Linked DNA regions of Homo sapiens: region 2 is linked to region 1. Evidence: promoter capture Hi-C in 16 types of primary human blood cells and fetal thymus (Javierre and others, 2016). All regions are on one chromosome and are shown on one strand. The core of a region is centred on a gene start or on the middle of the fragment in contact, and the rest is flanking DNA. Distances in the headings are between cores, read along the strand shown.

What was found. The method cuts DNA at HindIII sites, captures the fragments that hold promoters and counts their contacts. A CHiCAGO score of 5 or more calls a contact.
Region 2: a fragment that was not itself captured here is called in contact with the fragment with the promoter of BTBD1 in region 1 in 11 of 17 cell types (total CD8 T cells, naive CD8 T cells, total B cells and 8 more); the score reaches 13.4 in total CD8 T cells.

Annotation. Positions count from the first base shown.
Region 1 is chr15:83,063,095-83,069,817 of GRCh38, forward strand. BTBD1 (BTB domain containing 1) reads right to left here and starts at 4,158. Exons shown (of 8, transcript NM_025238.4): 1 at 3,657-4,158. The coding sequence starts at 4,057. It overlaps MIR4515 (microRNA 4515), which reads left to right and starts at 4,241; the gene lies at 4,241-4,321. RefSeq lists silencers at 3,476-3,645, 3,886-4,365, 6,242-6,291 and enhancers at 4,426-4,545, 4,556-4,605, 6,043-6,337. The HindIII fragment of the contact is 13,987 bases long and covers 1-4,906 here.
Region 2 is chr15:82,546,805-82,553,527 of GRCh38, forward strand. It overlaps CPEB1 (cytoplasmic polyadenylation element binding protein 1), which reads right to left. Exons shown (of 13, transcript NM_001365242.1): 8 at 6,663-6,723; 9 at 5,676-5,812; 10 at 2,656-2,854; 11 at 339-433. Among named protein-coding and RNA genes, the nearest start is that of RPS17, 9.7 kb to the left of the region's middle. The HindIII fragment of the contact is 1,847 bases long and covers 2,626-4,472 here.

The DNA.
Region 1 (6,723 bases), core at 2,908-5,407:
GAAATGTTTTGACTTGACTTTCAGAATATAATGCTCCTTCTTTCTCTTCTAATTCCACTGACAGCTGCTTCTCAGTTTCATTTTATGCTTTTTCTCTGCTACATCTCTACATATTTGAAGATTCCAGAGCTCATCCTTGTACCTCTCTTCACAGTCTACATGCCTTCCTAGGTAATCTCACTTGATCTCTCGATTTAAATACCATTCACTCTTAACTTGCAAATTTATGTTCAGCAAGCTGTTCCCTCACCTCCAAATTCATATTTCTGTCTACTCTATGACACTACTTGGATGTCTTGGAAGTCCTCTTGGTTGTACCTTCAAAAATATATCCAGAATTTGACCATGTCTCATCATGTCCTTTGCTACCTCCCTGGTACAAGGTACAATTCACCATCGCCTCTTGCCTGGACTACTGCAAAAGCCTCTTCATCTATCACCTTGCTGCCTATTTTACTCCAACCACTGCCAGAAAGAGTTTGTTTTTTTAAAATGTAAATCAGATCACAACCTCCTGCCACCACCTCCGCCTCCCCAATCTCATTCAAAACTCTCCAAAGGCTTTCCATCAAATACCAGCTGAAAAAGTCTTCGCTCAGTCTCTAAAGCCCTGCACCATCCTGTCTGGCCTATCTTTTTGACCTCATTTTCTACCACTTCCCTCTACTGTGCTTAAGGCACACTGGTTCACTCTTGTGTTCCTCCAACAGGAGATACTTAGTGCCGAAAACAATGCGTTCCCTTGCTGAGAATGTTCCTTCTCTCATAACTTGATTATTTTTCTTCAAAACATTCATCAGTACTTGACATTGTATCTTTAGTTTCCCTTTACTAGATTATGTGCTTCATGAGGGCAAGGACTTTTTCTTGTTTATTGCTGTGTCCCAAACACCTACAACAGCCATTCGCTGTTTCACAAGCGCCCCAAAAGGGAGGCATATAGTATTTGTCAAACAACTGAAGAACATCATTTAAAGGTCAGGCAGTTCAAAGTGCACAGTTTCTTTAAGGGCTTCAAACTTAAGTTCATGAGCCTGTAAGTAATGTTAACTAATTCAGGATGTTTACAAGTATGCCCAAACTAACCTGCTCTTCCAACTTAGCAAGTACTATCAGGCATCTTTTTGTCACGTATTAGCTAACAACAACATCTACGTTACACAGCCAGCCAAAATTAAATTTAGAAATCAGTCCAGATATCAATTTCAAAATAGAACAATGACCAGAACCTGAAGGATAAATACAATGCTAGGAAAATAAAACACACTGAAAATGTAAAAATGAAAAAAAAGTTTAAAAATGTAAAAAATGTTTTACAATGTGAAAAAAAAAATTGCACTGTCCTACATTTCAAACACTCTAAAATTAACTTACTTTCTATTGATGGGAAAGCACTAATTAGCAGCTTCGGTGAAAATATTAAAATATGTATTTTTCCTCTACATTCTTATCCTAGTAATCTCAATATTTTTTCAAAGTAAAAAATTGCCCCAAAATAGTTTTAGATTTGTGGTTCTTAAATTTAGTTTGTATAAGTATCACTTAGGGAGAGTGTTAAAAATGCTACCAAGGTCTCACCTCCAAATATTACGGTATATAATGAGGATGAGATCTACACATTTCATAAGCACCCCAGAAGATTATAATGCAGACGGCCCACAGATCATTTTGAAAACTACTTCTAGTCTAGAAAATCCAAATGAACTATACCCAATCCTCCTGGTGAACTTTAAACTAAAATGACCTGGATTTTAGCTTTTGAGGTCCCCCCCCTTTATAAATGTAACTGAACTAAATTACAGAAAATATCAGAAACAAAGAATAAAGAAGAAAAAAAGGTACTTTCATCTCACTACTCCAGGTGACTTTGCTTAGCATTTTGGTATGTTTCCTTTTATCCCGGTCTCTAGGTATATGTTTGTTCCATGTCTTTTCACGTTGTAACCATGGTGCAGTTTCAAGTGCTATCCGTCATATTTAGTGACTGCATTATATCTCATCAAGTGAACCTACCACTGTTTAACCATTCCCTACAGCTGACTACTTCCTCACTACTATAAATAAAGCTGTAAATATTTTTGTATGCAATTTGCAATACTTGAATGCTTCTTACGTGTGGAAAGAAAATCTATAGCACCAAACTGTTTTCCAAAAGGGTTTTTACCACCATCTTTGTCAGAAAATGCTGTTCAGATGTTACCTTTAAATTTTTTGGTGGGATTAATGGAAGGAAAAAATACCACTGTCTTTTAATTTGCACTTCCTAATTACCAGCCAGGTAAAACATTCGTTAATTAGTTGTATTTTTTCTTTCTCTAAGTTATCTATCCTGTCCTTTATCCATTCGTCAATGGAATCTTATTATTTGTTTCTAGTTGTGTGAACTTTACATTCATTTTCTTGTTCATCTTTCTGATTCAACTGTGAACCTTTGTATCTAATTCTGTCCCACTGACCTGCCTGTTTTTGCTTCAGTACTACCCAAGACTCTGCCATTTTAATAACAACACGTTCTACTCAGGCAGCTATTTAAAACCATCTTAGTATAATGAAACAGACATGGTCTTCAGTGTGAGTTAGCTGTTTGTTACCTTGGGCAAGATACTTGACTCTTCTGGGCCTCAGTCCCATTTGTGAAATTGGGGTAAACAATTCTTACGCCTCCCTAACAGGATGGCTGTGATTAAAAGCTAGTAATGCCAAACAATCACCTTTTCATTAGATGTCAATCTACTATCCTCAAATAACCAACAAGCAAATTCTAACATCAAGGGAGGGATTCATTTATAAGCAAATGTGACCTTGTGTGTAGAAACACAAAGCAGGTAAAGCCTCACTTGTCTGTTTTCGTATTTACTTTCCTGGGTCTTGACAACTAATACGTTAATGAAAAACAAAAACAAAAACAAAAAAGTGGCCAGGCGCGGTGGTTCACGCCTGTAATCCCAGCACTTTGGGAGGCCGAGGTGGACGGATCGCTTGACCCCAGGAGTCCGAGACCAGCCTGGGCAACATAGTGAAACCCTCTCTCTACCAAAAATAAAAATAAAAAAAATTAGCCGGGCGTGGTGGCGCGTGCCTGTAGTCCCAAATACTCGGGAGGCTGAGGTCGGAGCATCACCTGAGCCCGGAGAGGTCGAGGCTGCAGTGAGCCATGATCGCGCTACAGCATTCCAGCCTGGGCAACAGAGCAAGACCTTGTCTCAAAAAAAGCGGGGGGAAGGGGGTGACAATAACCCCAAAACATCAGTCCTGCAAGATTTTTCAACTACTCTCTTCCCCCAAACAAAAACATAAAACTTCGCAAATGGGCAATCAGGACAACCTGATCTGCCCCTCTATCCTTGCCACTTGTCTAATTCTGAAGTCTGAGCGACAATCCATAATTGGAATGCGAAACGCCTTTCAATGGTAAAACGCACGCTTGCCTAATGAAGACACTAACGTTTAGTTGGCGACTGAGCCGTCCTGGTTCACAGATTTCGATTTCGACCCTCCGGAGCATCAACGGCTCGGGAGGAAACTGAGGCCCCGGGCGGGTCAGAAGAGCCCAGCCCAAGGTCATCCGGGAGTCCGGGTAGGCCGGGCCCCGGGGATCTCCCAGCCCGGCCCGGCCCGGCCCGGCCCGGCCCGGCCCGGCCCGCGCTGCCGCTCACCTCAGCAGCGCCAGGAAGGCTGCGGGCTCCACGTCCGGCAGCTCGATCTCGGCCGACGTGGTGGCCATGCCGCCGTTGAACATGGCGTCAAAGACGGCGCTGCCGGCCGCCAGCACGAAGCGGTGGGCGGGGATGCGCTGCGGGCCCCCAGCGGCGGCGGCGCCGCGACCCTTGCCCAGTACGAAGCGCACATCGCTCAGCAGCTCCGAGTTGAAGAGGAAGGCGAAGCGCTCCTTCAGCGACGCCTTGGTCGCCTGCCAGTTGTAGAGAGGTTCCCGCTGCAGGGGGAGCAGGGGCCCCAGAGAGGACGGTGAGGGCGGCGGCGGCGGCCCCGCGGGGCCCGGCTCCGCCTCAGCCCCCGACGCCTGCTCCCCAGCTGCGGCAGGCCCGAGTGAGGCCATCCTCCAGCTGCGCGGTTGCCCACGTTATGGACAAAACTCCGCCGCCATCGCCCAGGCCGCCTCCGGAGGCCGGCGCTGCCTCCCTGCCTTCCGGGAAAGGCGCTTCCGGGGGCCTCGCGCCTCCGCAGGCCCCTCCCTGACCGCGCGCGCCCCCGCACGCCCGGGTTGCCGCTGTGCGCGGCCGCGGGAGGTGTAACAGGACTGGACTCCCGGCAGCCCCAGGGCAGGGGCGTGGGGAGCTGGTCCTAGCTCAGCGCTCCCGGAGGTGGAGCTTCTGCAGGCTGGGTGCTGCCGGGCCTACGGGCACCCACCCCCTGGCTCAGTGCCCTGGGTATTCTGACTCAGTAGGTCTGGGGTAGGGCCTGAGAATTTGTAATTTTAAGATGCATCGTGGATCTGCAGGCGGCTCTCACGGCTGCCTTTTTCTTCCTGCAGGCCCCTTATCACCAAGTCCAGCGCCCCCATTGTGTATCTGGGACATGTCCCAAGGCCTGTCCCGAGGAGTGTTTTGCCTGGAAGTGGAGGGGCAGGAAAGTATGGCCAAGGGAACACGTGAGGGAGGGGATGACATGACTTCCCACAACCCTGTACCCCAAGCGTGGCCAAGTCGCCGCTCCAGAAGGCCGCGAAACCCGTGGAAATTCCGGAAGCAGAGGTGGAAGGCTTAGAACCCCAGTGACCTCTCCCCAGGTCCGCAGGTCCCTTTCCCTTCTAATTGACCCTTTGGTTCCGTCCTCTGGGCCTAAGAGACATTTCCTTCTACTGCTTCCACCCCTGTATTTGAAACCCCTCGTGCTTGCCCACCTTCTCTTGTAGCGCTTTTCAGTCCTTGCACTGAACCACTGCCTAAGCTTGAAATTTAAAAAATTAAAAACTAAAACACACACACAATGGAAAAGGCTGTATTATCCCTTCCCAGGCAGTATTTACAACCCGGTCATCATGATTGGGGGACCGAGGCCTTCCTTTTTCTCCCTTCAGTGAGGCAGGCCCTGAGTTAAGTCAGCTGTCAAAAGCAGAACGTAGAAAACCCAAGAAATAGTCCTTGACCAGGCACGTATAGTTGGAAACACCTGTTCTTTGCAGGAAGAGCCTTACAGATTACAAATGCCGTCAAGTAAATAGTAAACCCCAAACCTGGGTTTCTCCTGTAAAATCACTCCACTTGTGAAACCACCAGAGGGGACTTCCAGCTGTTAGGCATTTAGAATGGTAACTTCTTTGGGAGAGGAACGTGCTTGGGAAGAGACTTAAAGTAGTAGGGGCTGAAATAGTGGATGCACAACCCCTTCCCCATTGCCAGCCGGCAATTCCTAAAGACAAAGGGACATCATGCTACTAATGATACCATTATCACACCTAACAAAATTAACCATATCATCAAATCATCTATATATGATTTTTTTTTTTTTGAGACGGAGTCTCGCTCTGTTGCCAAAGCTGGAGTGCAATGGCATGAAGTCTGCCTTCCGGGCTCAAGCGATTCTCCTCCTCAGCCTCCCGAGTAGCTGGGGTTACAGGTGCGTGTCACCACATCCAGCTAATTATTTGTATTTTTAGTAGAGACGGGGTTTCACCATATTGGCCAGGCTCCTCTCCAAGTCCTGACCTCGTGATCTACCCGCCTCGGCCTCCCAAAGTGCTGGGATTACAGGCATGAGCCACCAGGCCTGGTCCTATGTATAATATTTAATGTACAGTTAATATTTGTTTCTCCACTTGTCTCTAAAAAAATTTTTTTTTGAGACGGAGTCTTGCTCTGTTGCCCAGGCTGGAGGGCAGTGGCATGATCTCCGCTCACTGCAAGCTCTGCCTCCCACGTTCACGCCATTCTCCTGTCTCAGCCTCCCGAGTAGCTGGGACTACAGGCACCTGCCACCAAGCCTGCTGATTTTTTTTTTTTTTTGTATTTTTAGTGTGTCCAGAGTTCGTTCCTTCTGGTGGGTTCGTGGTCTTGCTGACTTCAAGAATGGAGCTGTGGACCTTCCTGATGAGTTTTATAGCTCTTAAGATGGCAGGGACCCAAAGACTTCTTCTGAAGAGCAAAAGAACAAAGCCCTTATGTCATGGAAAGGAACCCCAACGGGTGGTTGCAGTCTCTGGGCGTGGGGGCAGGAGGGGAGGGGCCGGCGGGGGTGGGGGGGGTGGAGTCAGCTTTTACTTCCTTATTTGTCCCCGCCCATGTCCTGCTGATTGGTCCATTTTACAGAATGCTGATTGGTGCACTTTACAGAGTGCTGATTGGTCTATTTTACAGGGTGCTGATTGGTCCATTTTACGGAATGCTGATTGGTCCATTTTACAGAGTGCTGATTGGTCCACTTTACAGAGTGCTGATTGGTCCATTTTACAAACCTCTAGCTAGCCACAGAGTGCTGATTGGTGTGTTTTTACAGAGCACTGACTGGCACATTTTACAAACCACTTGTAAGACAGAAAAGTTCTTCAAGTCCTCACCCTACCCAGAAGTCCAGTTGGCTTCACCTGTCATTAGTAGAGACGGGGTTTCACCGTGTTAGCCAGGATGGTCTCAATCTACTGACCTTATGATCTGCCCACCTTGGCCTCCCAAAGTGCTGGGATTACAGGCATGAGCCACTGTGCCTGGCCAAAAATATCTTTCACAGATGACTTTTTTTCCAATCCAGGATCAAATCAATGTTCAC
Region 2 (6,723 bases), core at 2,299-4,798, 520 kb before region 1:
CCCTCTATCAATTAGCAGTATAGGCAAGTGTTCGGAGGATTCCCAAAAGGTTGGAAAATAGGAAGTCAGGCTACTGAGCAATGCCAAAGAAATACCACAGTGAGGGAAGGCACCCTACACACTGAAGAGGCTCAACAGTCCCAGTTCCCTTCCTCCTGGGCGTACAAAGACCAAGCCCACTCCCAAACCCTAACCTCAATGTTAATTCTCAGGAATTTGGCTCACTTCCCTAAACACACCCAGCACAAACAGCTTCAGGTCTCAGGCCTGCCCTGGGTAGTAACTGCCCAAACCCCTCTCATATACCCCAGAGTAAGGGCATAAACCAGCCAACTCACCTTCTTTGTGAACTTGGTGGTTTTGATCTCCACAAAAGCAGCGCTGACTGCTTTCAGGTAACTCCGTTGGTTATTGAAAGTCACACGACCAGAACCTAGGACAACAGACACAAGCTTCCCTTCTAACCAAATTCTCCCAAATGCTACTTTTTTTTTTTTTTTTTTTTTTTTTGAGATGGAGTCTCGCTCTTTCGCCCAGGCTGGTGTGCAGTGGCGCAATCTCTGCTCACTGCAAGCTCTGCCTCCCGGTTTCACGCCATTCTCCTGCCTCAGCCTCCCGAGTAGCTGGGACTACAGGCATCTGCCACCACACCCAGCTAATTTTTTGTATTTTTAGTAGAGATCGGGTTTCACCATTAGCCAGCATGGTCTTGATCTCCTGACCTTGTGACCCGCCCGCCTCAGCCTCCCAAAGTGCTGGGATTACAGGCGTGAGCCACCGAGCCTGCCCTAATGCTACTCTTTTAAAATGCAGGAAACCCTTTACGATACTAGTGCTGTCCGACAGAAATATAATGTGAGCTACTATGTAACTTTATTTATTTTTTGAGACAGGGTCTCCCTCTGTCACTCAGGCTGGAGTGTAATGGCGTGATCTCAGCTCACTGCAACCTCTGCATCCCAGGCTCAAACAATCTCCTGCCTCAGCCTCCCAAGTAGCTGGGACTACAAGCATGAGCCACCATGCCTGGCTAATTTTTGTATTTTTTTGTAGAGACAGGGTTTCACCATATTGTCCAGGCTGGTCTTGAACTCCTGGACTCAAACGATCTGCCCCACCTCGGCCTCCCAAAGTGCCAGGATTATAGGTATAAGCCATCATGGTCAGCCCTTATGTAACTTTAAATTTTCTAGTAGTCACACTGAAATTTTAAAACAGTGGTGACATTAATTTTAATAATATATTTTATTGGCCGGGCACGGTGGCTCACACCTGTAAACCCAGTGCTTTGGGAGGCCAAGGTGGGCGGATCATGAGGTCAAGAGATGGAGACCATCCTGGCTAACATGGTGAAACCCCGTCTCTACTAAAAATACAAAAATTAGCTGAGCGTGGTGGCGCACACCTGTAGTCCCAGCTACTCAGGAGGCTGAGGCAGGAGAATCACTTGAACCCAGGAGGCAGAGGTTGCAGTGAGCTGAGATAGCACCACTGCACTCCAGCACGGCAACAGAGTGAGACTCCATCTCAAAAAAAAAATTTTATTTAACCCTATATGTTAATAATATTATTTCCAAATGTGACAACAGCTGTGTTTCCAAAACTCAATGGGGCCACATTTAGCTGGTAGCTACCATATTCGTACCATATTTGACAGTGGAGATCATGTTAGCGTGAACCATTCAGGAATGGGGGAAGAATTTGCAGATCAAGATGGGAAGGAAAGATAAGGGACTCCTTCAGTGCAGGTAGAGCATAGGTTAAGGTTAAAGGATTCAGAGTGGAAGCCAAGATGCAGATAGAACACTTGTCTGAAGGGTAAGCCCAGCAGTTGAACTGAACCTCTCCTAGCCCTTAGGCACTCTGGAGACCTATTAAGAGAGCTGGAAGAAGCCCCATCCTGCCAAGTTCCTCCTCCGCTCCTGGGGCTTCTGAAGTCCCTGTTCTCAATCTGCTGCACAGTATTGGTGAGTACATGGTGCTCCTTCCTGACCAGATTCAGTGTGGGTGTGAAGACTAAGCATTTGGGGAGGTGGGTTAGCCACATGTTAATCACAGAGGTCAGGCTCTGCTCCACCTCCATACCTCATCATTGACATTTTGCCAGGACTGGCGAATTGACCTCCTTTCTCAGAGGAGCTGATCAAAACCTAGTGGTTAGGCCCACAGACTTCTGAGTTAGGAAAGCACAGGCCACACTCTGTTGCCTGACTCACTCAGAAAGTCCTCCTCCAGCCTGACCTGGTCTCTGACCTTAGACAATGCCAGAGCTTTTCAAGAACTTTTAATAAAAAACTCCAGGCAAGTTCAGAGAATTGCAGCCTTTTCATGAAATAGTACCTGTTGTCTGTTCCAAACTGGTTTCGCTGTGAACTCTGAGCTTCCAACAAAGTTCCTACCTCACTCTCACTTCTTATCACCTCCTGTAGTCTCCAATAGCTTTTTCTCCCACTGCGTGGGAGATGGTGGGTAGAGGGCTAGATACAGAAGGGCCAGTACTCGTGACTTGTCTAGAAAAAGATATTATGGTGCTGGTATATGCTGATCTGCAGACCTGGGTCAGGCCTCTCTCCTCACTCCCATGGGGAAGTATCACAATCTTGGTCTACTCCCAGGGGCCAACCAAGCTTTCGCACACAGAAGTGGGACACTTACCAATGGGATACTTGTGCTTATCTGTGTCAATCCCGGCATACACCACTCCACCAAATAGGTCGTTCAAGATGGCTGCCAGGGCCTCAGCATTTAGCATTCCATGCAGAGCACCGACAAACACCGTCCTGCTGGGGTCAAGCCTCTGAGATGGGCTCCGGACAAAGTTACTGTCGGCTAATACCCAGGGGATCACCTGCACCTGAAAACCACCCAAAGGTGTATCAGCCCTGGCAGAGAGCCACAGAGAGAGAGGTGCTTGCACGGCAAGGTACGTGCTCTGGAGATACTGAAGCTAAGCTAACGCCCTTACAGGGGTGAAAAGGTGCTGTTGCCCAATCTCAGGCACACAGGCGTCCAATAAACCACCCTGACTCCACCCCAACTGGAGTTGAATTTTACTGAGTCCATGTGTCCAGAATGGTAGAAGTGGACACAGTACTCACTCATGCTGGAGAGTAAGCAAAAAAGTACCACATGGCCAAACCCAGGAGCCCAGCATTCTATTTCAACCTCCAACTGTGTAGTTCCAACAAAGGGCTGTGGACACTGATGAAAAGGGCATAATCTGAAGTCCTCAAGAAAGGAAGGACTCACAGAGAAATTAAAGGCTAGGATCCTGAAGGACAGAGGGGTGGGAGTGCTTACGATATTTGTATGAGATGGTTACTGGCCCAACCTAGCCTTCAGAGGGTTTGTGCCAGAGCAGTGGAAATGACTGGCGAGAGGTTGGGTAGAAAGTCACATACAAGATCCCTGGAGTCTTAAAGGGCTGGGGCTGACCATGTCCTTTGCCTCTGAATCTCCTGAACCTGGAACAAAACCTTGTAGAGCAGGTGGAGGAGTCCAGAATGAAGTGAAGATCTAAAAATATGTCTTGAAGCAGGAAGAGATCTGAGGCAGAAACCAGCAAGGAGGCAAAAACAGTAGTTTCAAAGGACAGGTGATTAAGACTTGGACAAGGCTGGTGGCAACGAGCAGAGAACAGGCCAAGACCAAAGAGATTCTTCAACAGAAGAGTCTGCAGTACTCAGACAGCATAAGCAGGATGGGCAAGCAAGGAAGAATCAGGCCTGGTAGGTGCTGGGCCTACACGGTCTTGGGATGAGAGGACCTGGCAGAAGTTACAAGAGGGGAGCCAATTTCACTGGAAGATGAAAAAGCCAATTTTGCCCACAAAAGAGTTTGGGATTACAGGACATCCCGAAGAAGGATCCCACAGGAAGGTGAGGCTCAGGTAGGACATGAGGCTAGAAAGGTGAATCTGGGTCTAAAGGTGAGAGAAGCCACAAAGTGAGTCATTTATCTGAACTAGAAAAGAAGAAGGGAGTCAAAGATTGGCTATATTGGCTATGTTGGTGCTGGCGGGGAGAGGAACACAAAGGAAAAAGAAAAGTAGAGAGGAAGGAGAACTGCATCAGCCTATAGCCAGTGAATCAAAGAAAGATTAAATCCCTGTAAGGTGATGGGAGGGAATGGGAGACAGGATGGTGTCTACAGGGGCACTGAGGAGGAAGGGGAAGGGCTCTGTGATATGCATATGGCCATCTCTGGTTGTGAAAGCAGGAGGGGAGGAAAAAGGAGCATGTTAATTAAGTCCTAGAACATACTAAGGTGGGAAGACTACACAAGCTCCAGAGAATAAAGAAGCAGAGAAGGTAGGGAAGCTGTGGGTCACTGTGGGCAGCCAGAGGATGAGCCTGCCCTCTCTCTAACACAGAACAAGAGCCAGCTTTGTTACATGGATTTATTTTAAATCTAATGTGACCATCCCAATAAAATAGGCATTTCTCCTCTTACCCTATAGATTTTTTTAGAGAAGCTTTAAGGTTTACAGTAAATCTGAGCAGAAAGTACAGGGATTCTCCAAATACTCTCTGCCCCCACACTTGCGTGACTTCCCCACTATCAGGATCCCGCATGAGAGTGGAACATTTTTTTATACTGACCCATCATCCCCACCGAAAGTCCATGGTTTGCATCAGAGTTCACTCCTGGTGTTTCTTTTACCTTCTATGGGTTTGGACCAAAGTATAATGACATGTATCCACCATATACAGAATAGTTTCACTGCCCTAAAAATCCTCTGTGCTATGTCTCTTCATCCCTTCCTGCTAAACCCCTGGCAACCACTGATCTTTTTTACTAAAATAGGCATTTTAGTTTCCCATCTTATAGAAGAGAAGAGGAAACAAAGTTTCAGAGATATTAAATATCTAGTCCAATGTCACAAAAGTTGTGTGCTCTCAAATCCGATTTTACCACCGCACTGATTCCTGAGCTCAAAACTTGCTTTGACAAGTGGTTCTCAAACACTACCCACTAGAACCACCTGGGGATCTTTATTCAGTTGGAGATTCCTAAATTCCACCCAGAGTGATTCAGTAAGTCTGGGATAAGGCCCAAGAATGTGCAATGAGATCCCCAGGTGAGATAAACTCGTTAGAGACCCATGCTGCCAAGGATACATAAGGCTGATATTAGAAAAAGCGTAGGAAGAGAGAATCTTATGGGGAAAACCCACAAAACTAAATAAAGCCCTGAATAAGAATGAAGAAGTGACCCACAGGTGGGTGTGGGCTAAAGAGGAATTCACCCCCACAGACTGGGAGGTCACAAGGCACAGGAAGGGCAGGACCAGGGAAAAACAGCTGTAGGTTTATCAGTTAAGTCCAAGTAGAGAAGTTTGCTGTTCTCAATTTCATTTCTAAGACAAGAGGTTTGAAACCAAAGTGTTGGCTACAAGAAAGAAGAGCAGAATAAAGACGGGCAGACAGTTTGATTACCATGGGCAGGCATGCGCATGTGTGCATGCACACACCCCATTAAGTCCCAAAGGTTGCTTTTTTTTTTTTTTAATGTAATTGAGAGGATACTGCTATTTTATTGTGGGACAAGAAGAGCCTTCTTGCCTCAGCAGGAATACTCCTTGCCTGCAGCCTGCCTATCCACCTACCACAAGAAAATCCAGTGCCTCAATATTCCAAGACCCTCGATCCAGAAAGGACATCACGCTAACTCACCTCCTTGCAGCGCATCCTTCGGCTGGACATCTTGAAATAATATTCACTCAGGCCATCTGGGCTCAGCGGGTCATGAGAGCAAGCCTGAAGCAAGGATCGGACAGACTTCTCTAGTTCGAAGACCAGATACACATACCCTATTCCCAATGAGAGGAAAAATCGCATTAATATCCCTTAGGTGGCCACTCCTCAGCCTTGGCTTTGCAGCAGGGCGTTTCTTCCAAGAAAGAAGGTCTTGTGTATAAGATACATTTTTGTTTTACTCCTGAAAAGTCGTGTTGAGTGGAAGCATTTGCTATGCAGATGCCCTGGGTTGTGGGCCTCCCTCCCACCCTGGTGAAGGAAAGGACTGGCAAGCTGAGACAGAGGATCCCACCATTACCACAGCTCTCTATGCAAGAACACAGAGCATGTTCAGGTCAGCAGAGCCAGGCTTTCCTGGTGGCAGGAAAGATGGCAGGTATTGCTTTAAACACCTACTTAAACCATTAGTTCAGTTCAATGAAGATGGGGCAGGGTGAAAATAGCACCTGCTCCTTTCTACAGGGAAGGGATCTCATTTCAGACCAGTGAGGAATCAGATGCTTGGTCCTCATTCCTGCCAACTCCAAAGGGACTTCAGAATTAGGTCAGGCAACAACGTAACTGGGCAGGACAGGCAGGCAAGGGAAAGCTTTTCAAACGCCTTATTTTGAGAGGAAAGGTGCTGCTTGGGTTCAGGTTTAGAGAGAAGTGTACAAGGAAGGGGTTTCAGAGGCAACTCCCACTGCTGTGTAAGTCTGGACAGATGGAACATTAGCTCAGAAGAAACAGAGGGACATGTTAGGTTGAAGAGAAAGTGCTGACAGATGGCAGGTCTGTGCCCTGGAGTGCCCACCATGTTACCAACATGCAGCTGTGACATCCCAGCACCCCTAGGTGCAGTTATGTACTAGGGAAGGGAAAAAAAAGCTCCTACCATGTCTTTATTACCTTTAGGCATATTACCTTTGGGAGGACACCGGGGATGCTTGCCATCCTTACCAGGCCACTCCACACTCAAAGAGCC